2 separate regions of the Homo sapiens genome follow, and region 1 is linked to region 2. Evidence: promoter capture Hi-C in 16 types of primary human blood cells and fetal thymus (Javierre and others, 2016). All regions are on one chromosome and are shown on one strand. Each heading gives the region's core, a stretch centred on a gene start or on the middle of the fragment in contact. The rest is flanking DNA. Distances are from core to core; before and after follow the strand shown. Region 1 has its middle 340 kb from the start of PHF14. Region 2 holds the start of COXFA4 (cytochrome c oxidase associated subunit FA4).

Region 1 (3,053 bases), core at 161-2,660, 380 kb before region 2:
GTCACAGATAAAAGCACCTTGAGAAAGGGAGAAAAGAGAAAGTGAAGCTTGTGGTTGCCACAAATGTCTAGCCAGAGTCCAAGGGATGGGAAAATCTTAGCATTGTTTCTCAAATATGTAATTTGTTTCTCCCTTGGTTTAGAGGATGTGCACAGCCAGCTCTGACTCCACAGGATCAAGTTAATGATGTAAAGCAGAGGTAAGCAAACTTGTTCTAGAAAGGGACAGATACTAAATATTTTAGGCTTTAAAGTCCATATAGTCTCTTACAAAAGCAGACACAGAAAACACATAAACAAATGGGCATGACTATGCCCCGGTAAAACTTTATTTACAAAACAAGTGGTAGACCTGATGTGGCCTGCAAGGTGTAGTTTGCTGACCCTGGTGTAAACCAAGAAGCCTTTTGCTGCCACTTCACAAAGAATCCAATTGCACCACAGTTAATAATCTCTTCAAAATGTGAACAATTTCATTAATGGATAAAATATTCAACTATCCAGTAGCTGTCCTCAAAAATTTTTTCGCTCACTTAAGAATATTAGCTTTGTTATTTCCAGAAAAAAATCAGATCACCAAATTACTGTCAAATGATCATATCTTTAATATTTTTCATCTCACAAATCAGTTTGTATCTCACTCTGAAACTTCCACACCCCCAAAAATGAAACTGAAAAGCCAAGACCTGAAAACCTATTGTGAAAGTCCATCAGTTTAAAAAAGAACACTAAGTAGAACTAAAGAAAATCTATTTGTTCAAATACAATCACATAACTAAACCAAAAAGTAGCCTCCTGGAGATAACCTTATGTTAAAAGAGTTTCATGTTTTCTTGAGAGCCTTTCATGCTAAAATTTCTAAAAGCCCACTGGTTGCACACAGTGGCAAAATGCTACAGTGATTTAACAACCCCAGGCAAAATTAAATAACAAAGCTAAGATATGATGGAGTACATTTCTTATCCAGTCGTAAAGTAATCTGCAATTTCACAAGTTAGAATTTGGTCAGGACCCAGATGTTAATTTCAGTACCAGGCAGAGTGTACTCAAGGTTTAACTTATATCAAACAGAGACGAGGTTTCCAGGACCAGCCATTGAACCCCATGTTGGAATGCAGTAGCTTTTCCTAAAGCAAAATAGCACACTACCAACATCATTGTTCAGCAGCACCATAGGTATCTCTGTGGGAATTTTTTAACAAATTACTGACAAGGGTTGGCCCTATTTAATCCATAATCGTGAATGCCATCAGCGCCTATGGTTAGAGGGCTATAAAGCCAAAGAGTAGCACACACTTTGGTCTTGTTCAGACTAAATTACTACAGAAAAAGGGTCAAATACCAAAGTAACCACGACTGCATCTTTAGATTGCCCTCTCAAAATTGTTATTTGTTTGTTCTGAGGATTTAATGGAAAAATAAGCAATTCCTTTATAGTTGGAAATTAATTTTTTTCTGGTAAACAGATGTTTAACTATCCCATTAAATGTGGATTTATTTCTTCTTTTTTTTTAATCAACACCCACACTTTCTATCAAAGGGTACAAAATTTTTCTGGCATCTTCTTTAGATATTCTACAAACATAATTGTTTGATTATATATAGATAGATACTGATATCAAGCAACTTACGGCTAGAGAGTACAATTTACACAGATTTGAACAGATGCATACATTTCGAACTTAAAAACCACTGACCAAACACTGAAGCATTTTGGTGGTGGTGAGCAAATGCAGCAGTTACATGTGTATTCAGACAGAAGCGTGGGGTCAAGGTTCCTACTGACCTCCATTTTATCACAAAAGTTCTCCAAGAGATAGAGTTGTAGAAAGGAAGTCCAAGTCCAAGACAAAAAAAAAATAAAGACAGATGAAATAGAGATAAAAGTTCAATTTAAAACATTATATACCATTTAAATGAATGGGAATTGGAATAAAGTTTCCCAAAAGGTACACAGAAGGAATAATCTGAATATGAAAAGTTACCACCGTCCTAAAGAGACACAATTGAGGTCACATTAAGGCTACTGGTTAAGTAATGGGTAAAAATCAAAAGAAAAGCCTCTAATCTGTCATTCATAGTGCTTTGCAAAGGATGGCATGTATATTGATTTAATCCTGATAACAACCCTGTGAAGTAGATGTATTATCCCAATTCCCCATAAGGAAGTCCAGGAGGGATGGTGCCTCATCCAAGTCAGTTTAGCTAGTAACCGGTAGAAAGAAAAACAAACTCAGGTCTTTTAGCTGTCTGTCTAGTGTTATTTTCATGCTACCACAGCACTTGTTTTTATGAAGGACAAAGCAGCAAAATGTCACAGTACGTGCACCCGTGGACTGAAGGGTATAACATGTTCCAAGTCAGGTTGAAATATTTCACCTCCATACTCTGTATTTCTTCGGTCTTGCCAGTCACTGGCTGGCTATGGGATCACATTAGTGGTGATGACCCAAATTTCACTGGTCTTGCCCCTACCTATATTGCACACACTTTCAGACTTTTGCAAACCTCTCCAAGAGCTTCCAGGAGATCCGGAAGTATCTCGTGAGTTATTTTCTCACAGTGTCTTAGCTTTTCAGTGACACCCACTGCTTCCAAAACACTCGAAGACTGTGCCTCTCAGTGCCACTGCTACAGCCACAGGAGAATACCCTTGTTTGATCAAGACCTTCTTAAGGTTCCCTTCAGCTTGACTAAACTTTTGACAGGCTTCTTCCTGAATGTATAAGCCCCTGACCTCCCCTTTTTTAGAACATTTACTTTACAAAGCTTACAGATGCAAATTTTTACTCTTTCACTTTGAGATGTCAATCTTCTAGTCTCTTGCTTCACAGTCCAGTGATGTCTGTCTCAAGGACCTGAGAGCCATCTCTTTGAAATGCAATCATCAAGAAAGATAGCACTCTTTTCTCCCAGTCTCTGTGGGAGGGTAGAAACCTAACTTCCATAAGTGGCAATTAGCCAAAACAGATGGCCTAATCACATGACCAGCCTCTCCCCTAATAACTTTTTAAGAACTTTTCTACTAGCCCAGCCTGGCATTTAAAAGTCTTC
Region 2 (3,045 bases), core at 377-2,876:
GTCACATGGGTTCATTTCTTATCAGTAAACTGAGTCCTAAATTTATACTTATAGTGTAGTTCTCTTCTGCCCCATAGAGATCCACTTGAATTTTACATAGGCACTTATACATCATTCTCTACGGCTTATTTCAATAACTGGCATCAACAACCACAGAGCTGCTCAAAACTGAACCTCTGAAATTATTCTTAACTTCTCTCTCCTCACTCCTGGAGAGCCAACCACCAAGTCCTGTTGGTGCCACCTTCTAAACATCTCTGGAATCTTTTTTTCTCATCATTACATTCTCTACACTAGTTCAAGCTACCATTATCTGTCACACAGATTATGGACTATTGCAATGGCCCCTTGATAGGTCTTTCCCCTCTCACGCTTATCCCTTCTAATCAATTATTCACAAAGCAATCATTTAAAAACACAACCTTCCCAAGCTCTCAACATAAAACCCATGATGTTTAAGCGGTTATTGGCCCAGCAGATCTGATCCCCACCTTGCTCTCCCTTTTACTTTCCAGCCACACTAGACCTCATACAGCTCCCTCGGGTTTTCAATAGCTTCAGACCTTCACGTGTTATTACCTCCGCCCTGTACACCTGCATCCTCCGTTTTCACCTGGTTAATGTCCGCTCCTCCTTCAGAGCTAGTGTAACTTCCGGTGGAGCCTTCTCCTATGATTTCTAGTCCCAATTATTAATACTTGCTTGATCATTTGATTAATGCTTTAAGCTACGTATGAGATTGGAGAGGGTTCAGAGTGTACATTTTATCCCAATCCCCCCACCCTCCCCCGCAAAGCCTGTCCTATGGAAGTCCTTCGGGTAAAAAAAACAACGAAGAAAACAAAACAAAAGACAAATGAAAATTCGACTGGGGTAGTGGGAAAGATTATCTGTAGCTACACGACCATTGAAAACACATTTTAAAGATGCAATTTGGGACCAGGGACGGGGGATAGTGGCGTGTTGGAAAGGTCTTTGTGGCGACGAACTTTCAACCGAGGGCCAGGATCTGAGGGTTCAGAAATACACTGCCAGGACTATTATCACCTTTAAGTCATTTACTAGTTTTTAACTTCTGCTTGTCTGCGACAGCGTAACACAGGAAGCAGCTGCAGTCTTCTCAAACCGCAGCCGCTGACCTTAGCGGCAAGAGGCCCGACCTGCCCTCCAGGCGCCCGGCGCTCGGCTCCCAGAGGCGCCGCGCAGCTCCCTCAGCGGCAGTCACAGCTGGCCAGCGCGCACCCGGCACGCGCGCCCCCAGGGCCTCTGCGCGCGGACCCGGCTCTCAGGCGCCGCGGGAGAGGCCCCCTACTCACGGAGCGCGCGGCCCGTGCGCCCACGCTCCGACCGCATTCCTCAGTACGTGGCACCCTTGGAAAGTGCCTGTCTGGTCAATCGAAGAGTCCTCGTTTCGACCAAAAAAATTCCCCTCAGAAATATGCATGGCACGGCAATGAAGGCATTTCACTATGAAGTGGAATGATGATGGTCCGACCAGGTCAGGACGAACATATGAGGGGTTAGATCTAAGCAGGCACTATTAAAGACAGTCGCATCCGGGCCCTCCTGCCGCAAGCTGCCCTCCCAGCCAAGGGTCCTTCAGGTAGGAGGTCCTGGGTGACTTTGGAAGTCCGTAGTGTCTCATTGCAGATAATTTTTAGCTTAGGGCCTGGTGGCTAGGTCGGTTCTCTCCTTTCCAGTCGGAGACCTCTGCCGCAAACATGCTCCGCCAGATCATCGGTCAGGCCAAGAAGCATCCGAGCGTAAGTTCGTGACCGCTCTCCTAATGTTTTCCCTTGTCCTTCTTGCGTCGGGGTGCGCCTCTTTCTGTTCCCTGGGAACGTCCTCATTTACAGCCACTTACCGTCCGTCAGACCAGACCCTGCCTCGCCTAGTGTTTGTCATCTTAGTTGTCCCAGGCCTCTGTGACCCTCTACGCCATGCATTGTGGGGTTTTGTCTGACAGGAGGAAGGAGACGGACACTGCTCGGAAAAAAAACCTAGTTTTTTCTAGTTAGTGAATATTGGAACAGTCTGGTGGCCGCTCTCTTTTGCAGGTTGTGCGGTCCAGGAGGGATAGATGTGCGCTGTGTGGGTCAGAGACTAGCATAGGTCAGGTTCCCTATGTGTTATACCATCTCTGGAGGTTCTTGTATTCGCCGCATTGCACCACCAGGCCTTTTGGTAAATAAGAGGGGTCCGTGATCTTGGAATCCTCACTTTGTCTGGACGTCGTTGCTTTTGGGAAAATTTCGAAGTGTGGAAATTGCAGTTAAGTTCTTTGGCATCTCATTTTTCCTCAGCACATCAATGTGCTGTAGAGCTAAAAGTCTATGCAATCTTTAATCTGTCTTAAATCCGGTTCCCTAAATACGCAGCAAGCATTGGTAGCATTACGTTTTCAGAGATAATGCTTAAAGCCAGTATTTGTAATAGATACGTTTACTTATTCAGATTCTATTTTTCATACATCTTTATAGAGGCACCCTTAAATAATTTGCAAAGAATTTGTTTTTCAAGCCCCAGGATAAAGGAAGCCAGAAAATTTAATGGGAATGACATGTAAATATTAGAGAGGTGAAGAAGACTCGATACATTTTCTTGGAAATTTAAAAATGTACCTATAATTTGCTCCACATTAAAAAGTAAGACACTTAAACCAGAGTCATCTTAACATCCTTTCCAAATTCCATTTCTTTCTTTAGAACACAGTTATAAGAAATCTTACCTCAATGTAAGATCTACTTTATTTAAATTTTAAGACAAAACAGTCCAATAACAGTTTGAGACTTGGAAATCAATGTGCAGAAACTACTGTAATCTCTCGTTGGCCAGTGTTTTAAGTATTTGAAGATGGTTATTCTATTTTGTGTTTGGTTTAGTTGATCCCCCTCTTTGTATTTATTGGAACTGGAGCTACTGGAGCAACACTGTATCTCTTGCGTCTGGCATTGTTCAATCCAGATGTTTGGTAAGTACTTAAAAATGTTTAAAACTTTGATAGCTGATCAAGGCAGTTTAGGAGCCACAGTCTCTGTAGGGCGA

The links. The method cuts DNA at HindIII sites, captures the fragments that hold promoters and counts their contacts. A CHiCAGO score of 5 or more calls a contact.
Region 1: a contact is called between a fragment that was not itself captured here and the fragment with the promoter of COXFA4 in region 2, in 1 of 17 cell types (M0 macrophages). The highest score is 5.1, in M0 macrophages.

The regions. Positions count from the first base shown.
Region 1 is chr7:11,315,615-11,318,667 of GRCh38, reverse strand. No RefSeq gene overlaps it. Among named protein-coding and RNA genes, the nearest start is that of PHF14, 340 kb to the right of the region's middle. The HindIII fragment of the contact is 2,721 bases long and covers 50-2,770 here.
Region 2 is chr7:10,938,734-10,941,778 of GRCh38, reverse strand. It overlaps COXFA4 (cytochrome c oxidase associated subunit FA4), which reads left to right and starts at 1,626. Exons shown (of 4, transcript NM_002489.4): 1 at 1,626-1,763; 2 at 2,883-2,971. The coding sequence starts at 1,722. LOC107986767 (a long non-coding RNA gene) reads right to left here and starts at 1,523. Exons shown (of 3, transcript XR_001745091.3): 1 at 1,048-1,523. RefSeq lists a silencer at 1,094-1,343 and enhancers at 569-1,489, 1,374-1,643. The HindIII fragment of the contact is 7,174 bases long and covers 1-3,045 here.